Linked DNA regions of Homo sapiens: region 2 is linked to region 1. The links are contacts of gene promoters, found by promoter capture Hi-C in blood cells and fetal thymus (Javierre and others, 2016). All regions are on one chromosome and are shown on one strand. The core of a region is centred on a gene start or on the middle of the fragment in contact, and the rest is flanking DNA. Distances in the headings are between cores, read along the strand shown.

Region 1 (4,776 bases), core at 996-3,495:
GGCAGGGCTGGGGGATGACTGACAGTGGGCCACCCCCGGGTCCCAGGGTGGGGAGCAGGTTGACAGGTATGCTGGGGAAGCAGGGGGAATCCATGACACACTCATTGAAGTTGTGCAGGTCATTGAGAAGGACGAGCCCGATGTACAGCCAGCTCAGGGAAAGGAGGAAGGTGAGGAAGAGCAGGCCAAACCAGATACAGTCGCACTGCAAAGGGGCAGGAGAGAAACTCACAACCAATACCTACTTCAAACTCAGAGTCCCCAACGGGTGGCAGCTAAAGGGAGCTGCCTGCCCCGTGTTGGGCTGCTCTGCTCGGGGGGCAGCTCTTTCCATATTTGAGGGAGATTTTCTTCCTGGGAGAGAGAGCCCCTTCCCCCAAGCTGTCTATGAGCACAATTGGCCTCCTTATCCCCTCCAGTGAGCCTCTGCCTTCTGACTTCCAGCCTCCCCCCTCCATCCCTACTCCACCTTGCTGGTTTGCATCCTCTCTCTGGGGCATTTCCTCCAGTGGCAGCTATACAGGCAGTGGAGGCAGCGGGCCCAGACGGAGCAGCAGCCGGGGGACTCGGCCATGGTGAAGGCCTGGGGGAAGGGACACTCGACCATCAGGGACCCTGGCAGAGGGCAGATCCCAGTCTCCCTCCTAGTGTATCTGAGGAGCCCGGGGGAGAGGCAGAGGCCTGGGCCGCTGCTCAGCAACGGAGGTCACGGGGCAGGCCCAGAGTGCCAGAGTGGATGAGGCGAGCAGCCCCAGCTGCAAGCCTGGCAATGGGAGACAGTCTCCAGAGCCTTCGTTTCCCTTTAATCTTGTTACCTGGAGAGTCAGTGGGACACCCAAGAGGTCCAGCCTCTTTTCGGGCAGGATTCATATCCACTCTCTCCAGCTCCTCCCCATTTAACAGCACACACCTCTGGGGATGGAGTGCTTGCCCTGGGGGTAAGAACTCAAGAGAAACTGCCCAGGGTGGGACAAACTCAGTTCAGCAAGTTAAAGCAGGTTTGGCCAAGCTGGAGGCAACCCCATGTTGAATTGCTTTCCAGCCCAGGAAGCAGGAGTAACCTGAAGCAAAGGTTACAGTTCTGACCTGGGGCTAAGGAAGGCCCAGCTAGTTGGCCAGTTGCTATGGTTATAGAGATTATTCAGATCACAAATCCCTGAAAGATTCTCTGTGTCCACCTCTCAGGGGACAAAGGGCACTGCCAAAAAGAGAAAGACTTGAGGTGAACATGTTGCCTGGGTCACTCCCAGTCTTCTAAAGGAATCTTTGGATTTTCAAAATACAGAGCCTCCCCTCAAGTCCTGCCCTTTCCTGCCCAGTCATCCCCCAACCCCAACCAGAAGCCCAGACTCGCCTTTAGGAGCCCCACCCTCTAAGTTAGCTTTGGTGAAAGTACAACAAACGCAGGGCAAAGGTGTGTATGCGGGGTGTGGTTGTCTTGGGGCAGGGGACCCCTGTACCTTATGCTTCTGGGTTTGGCTGACTGAGCTGATCCCCAGACTTGGCTGGGTACGTGACTGATTCTACGCGAGACGGTATGTGATTTGTGTCAGCATTTGCACGCGACAGCACAACTGGCTGTCGGTACAATATGATTTTAGGTGACTTTGAGTATGTAAAGGAGCCCCTGGATACACCCAAAGTGTGTGAGCATGTGTGCGTGCGGGCTGAGGGACAGGACCTCTTGTCCTCAGAGCTCTCCCGAGGCTATGGAGTCTTAGAGGGGTGCACAGTGGGTGGGTCCGGTAAGCAGGAAGGTGTGGCTGCTTCTGAACTGCCCTCTTTATGCTGCCTTGGGAAAGGAGGGTTAGGGTAGGGGTGAGGAGCTGGAGCTGGGGGAAGGAAACCCCTCCCCTCTACGAGACCCTTCCCGGTAAAAAGCCAACCCAAAGGGAAGCCCTTGCCTCTGCCCATCTTGGAGCTGGTTTGATAGCCTGCTCTAAGCTCTTGCCTCCCCTGGGGTCCTACCCCTGCACCCCAGACACTGCCTTCCAGAGTCCCCTCCCTTCAGGAGCTGCCTGTAGGATGGGATCAGGGTCTGAGCAGCCTGAAAACCCCAAGTAGGGTTGCTGACAGGGGTGCCATTCAATCCCCCGGCCCAATCCCAGTGGGATGGAGCTGGTCTCTGCTCCACAGCTCCCACCTGTAGCCCCCCAGCCTTCCCGAACCCTCACACCTTTGCTCAGCGGCAGCTCCGCTCCGCTCTCCTCTCTGCACTGCTTCCCAGCTCCTCTCCGAGTGGTCTGCCTCCTCCCTTTTTCAGTCCTCGGTTCAGCCCTATGAGTCAAACAGGTGGCACTGTTGCCACCTACAGGAGGCTGTGTGGGTCCTCTCCCAAGGCCTGCAGCTGCTCTGTGGCCTGGGCACAGCCCGGGTGGGAAGATGGGAGGGAGGAAGCGGGAGGGAGAGCAAATCTGCTTCTTTACTCGCTGGCGGTCAGGGGGCTTGGGGTGAGGAATTCCTTTGTGCAGGCTTTCCCATCCCTCTGTCCCTCCTCCTGTTCCCCTCCCAGTCACTGCCGGGGCTTTGTCCTGGCTCAGGGAGGCGAGGGCTGAGGGCACAGGCTGGCGGGAAGCTGGTGTGTGTGGGGGGGGGAGGTGACCACACAACTTTGCAACTTGGCAGTGAGGAGAAGAGGCCCAGCCAGCCCACTGGAAAGGCGTGTGTGTGTGTGTGTGTGTGCGTGTGTGTAAGCCTAACATCAAGTCTCAAGCTCCCTGGAAATACAGCCTTGATTCATTAGGCTCCCTCCCCTATTGAGCTCCTACTTCTAATTCAGCAAGGTGCATGTATAAGAAGCTGCAGCCTGGCGCGGTGTCTTACACCTGTAACCCCAACACTTTGGGAGGCCGAGGCGGGTGGATCACCTGAGGTCAGGAGTTCAAGACCAGCCTGGCCAACATGGTGAAACCCTGTCTCTACAAAAAATACAAAAATTAGCCAGGCATGATGGTGTGCACCTACCAAAGACTAGGTAGTTGCATGGGACATCTCACAAGGCCAGGTTTAAAGCAAAGACAAGCCTTGGTCATTTGTCCCAGCTACTTGGGAGGCTGATGTGGGAGGATTGCTTGAGCCCAGGACGTCGAGGCTGCAGTGAGTTGAGATTGTGCTACTGTGCTCCAGCCTGGGCAACAGAAGCTGCAAGCTACTTCCTGAACTCTGGATAGCAAGTTGCCGTTTCTGGACCAGAGGTCCCCATGGGCCTTGTGGATCCTGGGTGACACTAGCAGTTCTCCCACCTTCCCTCATCACCCCAGACAGGAGATGCTCATTCAGGACTTGTGTCATTTCTGCTGCCTTGTCCCTAAGGCATATGAGTCTCTTTCCAAGAATCTTTTGAGGAGTGTAGAGTATATTGGGGTCACAGGCTTTTGGAAGATGAACACATAGAAAAGATGCTGTTACTATAGCATCAGCATCAGCAGGGAAGGGCTGGCTAGCACACTATAGTTTGCTTAGTGCTAAAGCACAGGGGTCTGGGTGGGATGGGGGCCAGGGGCTGGCTTGGTTGACCTCTCCCTCTACATTACGCCTGATGTGGTGACTCGAGGTCTGGGGGCTATTAGTGCAGTGTTGGTGGGAAAGGATGTTTTCTCTGGGGATAAGCCTGCTTACCCCTCCCCCAACACACACTGGATTTCAAACAGTGAGAAGGAAGACTGGCTCTCTTATGCCAAGAGCTGGCCCCCCTCCCACTCAGGCTTCCCATTGTATCCAGAGGCTCTAGTTGGCAATGGCAGAGGCTCCCTTGCTCCCTCGGCATTAAAATGCAAAGAGAAGCAGGGCTGCTTGCTGGCAGGAGGCCAGGGAGGACCAGCAGGTCACCTAGTCCATGGCAGGCTTCATTCTAGGCAGATTGTTGCTCAATTTCTTTTGCTTGGGCTCTGGTGGATTCTAGAGGAGTCTTGGCTTTTGAGTGTTTGGGGATGGTTTGGGAGCTTTTTTGGGGAGAAGGGTTTTGGGATTCAGAATGCATGGATATGAAGCGCAGGGCTTGTGAGCATCTACCTCAGAAGGCTACAAGGCCAGTCAGCAGCTTGTGTATGGCATTCCAGGGCTGGCCCCCTTTTAGCTTTAAGCAGAGATAGAGAACACTGATAGACTGTAAGGCGTAAGCATCTTTCAAAGGAGAATGCAAGGAGCCAGTGCTGTTCTGTCCTGGGACTGGACAGCAGTGTGGTGCAACGCCCCTCCTACACTAAGAAATTAGGCTGCAGGGCATTAGAAGTGGCTGCTGCTGGCACTCTAGAGAGTTGGCTAGAGTGAAGCTTGGATGGTAGCTCTGCGTTCAGGTCCTAGCTCTATTGCTCACTAGCTTTGTGACTTTGGGTAAGTTACTTCTTTATACCCCAGTTTCCTCATCTGCAAAATAAGGACATCTATCTATGTTGACCTTTTTGTGTGTGTATGAAGAACAAATAAAACTGTAGCAAGAACATGGAGATGGTTAGTAAATGCGGTTTCTTCCTCCCAAATCTGGAAGCCAGGCAGGTTCTACAGTGGAGGTCAGGCCACTGGCCTTGCTAACGCGATTCTGATTTCCTAGGGTAGCAGAGCAACATAAAGACACATCACACTCCACAATACCCTCTGGGAAAGAGGGCAGCTACAATAAGGCAGGGAGGCTCAGGTACTTGTAATGAATCCCCTTAATAGCTTCCTCAGGGGCTGAGGAACACAGGTTGAAATTTTATTTCTCCCTCTAGCACAGAAGGATCTTCCCAAACAGTAGACGGGCTAAGGTTTATTTACTTACTTAACATTTAAAAATAA
Region 2 (4,343 bases), core at 1,232-3,731, 930 kb after region 1:
TTTCTTGCCTGAACTAAACCCCTAAGACACTGGGCTTTTGGCTACTAGACTTGACTTTCTCCTAGCAACTACAGCCGGGTTTATTCCTCTAGCACAGGATAGAAGAGCTCTGCCTGGTTTAACAACAGCACATGTGAAAAAGACCTTGATTTGATTGTAAAGTCAATGTGAGCCAACAGAGTGATGGTGCTGCCAACAGAGCTAATTAGATTTTAGGCTGCATTAATATAAGTAGAGAACCAGAACAAGAGAAGAGATGGTTCTGCCCTTCCCTACACTTGTCATGTCCTACCTGGAGCACTGTGCTCCATTCTGAACAACCCATTTAAGCTAGGATACAATGACAAGATGCAAGATGTCCAAAGGTAAGTCGCTGGGCTAGTGCACTAGTGGTCACGTCATACGAGGAACATTTGAAGGCCCCGAGCTTATTTCGTCTAGAGGTAAACAGACCCGGGAAAGAAACTGCATAGGGGAAGGATCAAAAGTAGTTATTCAGGTTAGGGTTCAGAGCCAGGGAGATTCCAGCAAGCAGGGTAGTATCAAGTGATTGAGTGAATGAGAGAGACATTGAGTGAATTGGGAGAGAGTCAATAACAATAAAAATGAACAGTTACATAGTGCTTAACATGCACCAGGTACTATTCTAAGCATTTACATATTTTAAGCCACTTAACCCTCTATGACAACAATTATGTGGGGTAGATCTACCGTTGTCTCTATTTTCTAGACACTGAGGTACAGACAGGTTAAGTCACTTGTCTAAGGTCATGCAGTTGGCAAGTGGCGAAGGGAGAATTTGAGTATATGCAGTCTGGTTCCGGAGTTCATGACTACTTGATCTCTTCTCAGAATAAACTTAGTGATTCTGGGTAATTGCCAAGATTCAAACACCAAATAACATTTTCAACTTCTTGATTGTTTGGCAGCTGTGGGTGAGCTGGGATAGATGGGGCTGGGACATGGACTTAAACCCAGGAGATTCCTCCTAGATATTTTAATATCTTCTCAGTCAAAACCAAGAGAAGTAAATGTTCACATTTTAACCCACCTTGGGCCCTTTCACTTTTACTTTCTAATATGAGGAATCTGACCTTATCCCTAAGTTGACAGAGTGGCCTCACCCTAGGATCCATCCCACTCTAGGCCACAAAGGTACCTAGATGGCTACCTCTAGGCTCACCACTACTCCAGAGCTTGGAGTGTACAGACCCTGCAGCTACTGAAACCAAATGAAGGATTTGGTTTCTGTCTCACTGGCTTCCCCACCCCTGACTGCAAGGCCCGCCATCATCCTAGGGGACTTCAGTATACAAATTAAAATTCAGCCATCACCTGGGCTTCCCGGTTCCTAAACTGCCCCATCTCTTCCACTCTACCTCAGCCACCCACCTCCATTGTCACAAACGGGACCTGCTCCACTATAAATCACCAATCTCAATCAAGCCTTCAACATTGCTTCACAATCCAAACAGGTACTAAATTTCTTTAGTACTTTTCATTCTCCAGGATGACTATTTCAAATCTTCTCCATTCTTTTCTTAAACCTCCAACCCCTGTGTCCACCCTCTCACTCTTAGCCAATAATCTTATGTCTTAGTCCATTTTGTGTTGCTCTAACAGAATACCTGAGAATGGCCTCAAGTGATCCTCCTGCCTAGGCCTCCCAAAGTTCTGGAATTGCAGGTGTGAGCCACCATGCCTGGCCCACACTGGCCACCTTTGAGTTCCAAATGCCATGTCTTTTTGGCCACAGGAGCTTTGCACATGCTGTTTCTTTTGCCTGAAACACTCTCTTTACTCCCTACCTCTAGCCACTTTGCCTGGCTAATCCTACTTAATACTCAGATTCCAGTTCCAGCATCACTTCCTCAGGGAAGATTTCCTTGACTAGTTCCTGCAGGCTAGGTCAGGTTCCCTTGTTAGATCCCTTGTAGAACTGTCTTCCTTTCTTCATAGCACTTATCTTAGATGCATTTACACCCTTATTTGCGTGATTCCTTGGTTAATCACTGTCTCTCCCACTACACTCCAGAATCCTTCAGAACAGGAACCATGTCTGTTTTTGTTCCTCCTTGTTTCTCTAGCTGCAAACACAATGCCTAGCACATAGATGCTCCGTATTTAGAATTAATTAATTAATAAACATTTCAAGTGAGAAAGTGAGACCATCCCAATTCCATTAGAGGAGTATGGCTTTACCTTAATGAATCTGCTAGCATGACTGTGTTTTAATACCAAACATGACCCACACCATGTAGAAACAGAAGGTTATTCTCTCATGTCTGCCTCCAGAGATAATGAATTCCTCTCAATGAAGGTATCTTCAAGCAGATATCTAAGGAGAAGTTGAATGACTGCTTATGGTGATATAGCCACAAGATGATCTCTAAAGCTTTTGACATCCAAGGTTTTGTGATTCTATGATTTGATGCATAGAGAGGGTGGCTTGAGCAAAGGGAATTCAGACACCCTCTAGGATGGAAAAGCCATGGAGAAAAGCACTTTAGGATTTTAGTCACATTGAGATTACCTCATTCATTTCTTTCCTTCCCACAAAAGCTTCTCTTCTAGTTTATACTTTGGAGGACCATTTTTTCCTATGTTAAAGATTGCCATAGGTAGAGGGTCTTTAATTTTCAAAGCTCTCTCAGTTTCAAGATTCACTGGAAATCTTGTTTCCAATTTTCATTTTTCCTGCTTAAATTGAAAGCTATTTCTTATGCCTCTCATAGCAAGGATGAAAGTACAGTGGTTCAGGTATATCCAAAGAGTTTTTAATAAAGGTTATTGTTTTGGGCTGAATGCAAGTCCCCACACTTCACAGTACAGAGAATTAAGATGCCAACTCTGATGAAATCAGACCCTTGTTGTACATGTGTGGGTAACTCTTGATATTTGGATGTTAAAGGTCTCATAGGGCTACAGTGTTGTCAGACTGTGGGGCCTATAAAGGTCATAGCCAAACCCCTCAACGTAGGGGGTTGGCACTCACTTGAACTGTCAGTTAATAAATGGTATCAATCAACAACTGAGTCCTAAGGATCACCTGGAAAAGAAATGCATTCTTCAGAGAGGGAACCAGAGCTGAGGGGGAGGACTCCAAGAAGACTGTGACGCAGGTTTCTGTAGTACTGGCCAGGGAGGGAACCCAGCCCTCAAACACTTGCCCCCTGAGGTTGGAGGTAAGAGGTGCCTACCCTGTGAGCACAGGTCAGGAATGGAGAGGGAAGGAGCCAGCCTTCTGCTGCTTTGGAGCCTGAATATAGTACAGACAGAATGTGTGAGTCTCAGAGAAAACTTGGCTGTGGTTGGCTCTGAGACATGTGCTGTGAAAGCTGGACTGTTTGGGTTTCTGGCATGTCCCTCTCCTTCTCCCAGACTGCTTCAGAAAGTTCTTTGTGCAGTTGCTTCCTGCTCACTCTACTGTGCCCAGGGAAAGCCAAGGATAGGCTTTGTGCCTCTCTCAGGCCAGAGTCTTAAAAAGAGAGTGACACATCGCTGGGGCATGTAGTATGTGGCAGCAGGGGCAAAAAGAAAGAGGCCAAGCCCTACCATGGAGTTCACTGTGGGGGTACTGGGAATGAGAGCTTCTCTCCTGCATGCCTCCTCCCCAAGATATTCGTTGCTTCAACCTGGGAGCCCCCAGGTTCTGTTTTACCAAGGAAGTGATGATGGTGAGATCAGACGGAGACCTAGGGCCCTAAGGGGAAAGGAGAAATTCAAAGGGTCAGAGTTGGGGGAAAACTAGAGCTGCTTCTTCCATAGATTCTCTCTTCAGTGCTATGAGTTTCTCCTTTCAAGGGAAGCAGCTTCTTTCTTCACTGAGTACTTTTTAATGGGTGAACATGAGACATACCTGTCAAGATAGAGGTAGATTTTCCATCTGGTAATGGGTAGATGGGACCCCTCTAGCACTGCTCTTCAGATCCTCTCTGGAGTCTGCTTCCCAGGCAGGGCAAGGCCTTGGCCAAAAGGCTCCTGGTCCTGGATCTGGTGCAGATTGCTTGTCAAGGCCAGAAAGCCCCTCTCTGTAGCTTCCTGCCTCATCACATTGGAGGCAACTGCCTCCTGAAAGTGGTGAAAGTTAGGGCCAGGGCGTAAGGAAGGAGCTCCATCCTCCACAACTCAGTGTGAAGTCACGGTCAGACTCATCTCCTGTTATCAGTAGAGCTAAGTATAGAAGGAAGCTGAGTAGAGGTCTTGAGGCAGTAAATCTGGGCAGAGCACTAGAGTCCAAGTCACCTTGGACACTGACCCATGTGTGACCTGGGACTTTGGGCCCAAGGAAAACCTGGGTTTCCCTGGCTTGGGGGCTTCTCCAACAACCTGCTCCTCTACTG

What was found. The method cuts DNA at HindIII sites, captures the fragments that hold promoters and counts their contacts. A CHiCAGO score of 5 or more calls a contact.
Region 2: a contact is called between a fragment that was not itself captured here and the fragment with the promoter of GDPD2 in region 1, in 1 of 17 cell types (naive CD4 T cells). The highest score is 7.2, in naive CD4 T cells.

The regions. Positions count from the first base shown.
Region 1 is chrX:70,420,783-70,425,558 of GRCh38, reverse strand. It overlaps GDPD2 (glycerophosphodiester phosphodiesterase domain containing 2), which reads right to left and starts at 2,245. Exons shown (of 16, transcript NM_017711.4): 1 at 2,177-2,245; 2 at 470-583; 3 at 102-205. The coding sequence starts at 574. It overlaps KIF4A (kinesin family member 4A), which reads right to left. Exons shown (of 31, transcript NM_012310.5): 31 at 4,673-4,776. RefSeq lists enhancers at 1,302-2,290, 2,291-3,279. The HindIII fragment of the contact is 11,609 bases long and covers 1-4,273 here.
Region 2 is chrX:69,495,449-69,499,791 of GRCh38, reverse strand. No RefSeq gene overlaps it. Among named protein-coding and RNA genes, the nearest start is that of NALF2, 6.7 kb to the left of the region's middle. The HindIII fragment of the contact is 167 bases long and covers 2,398-2,564 here.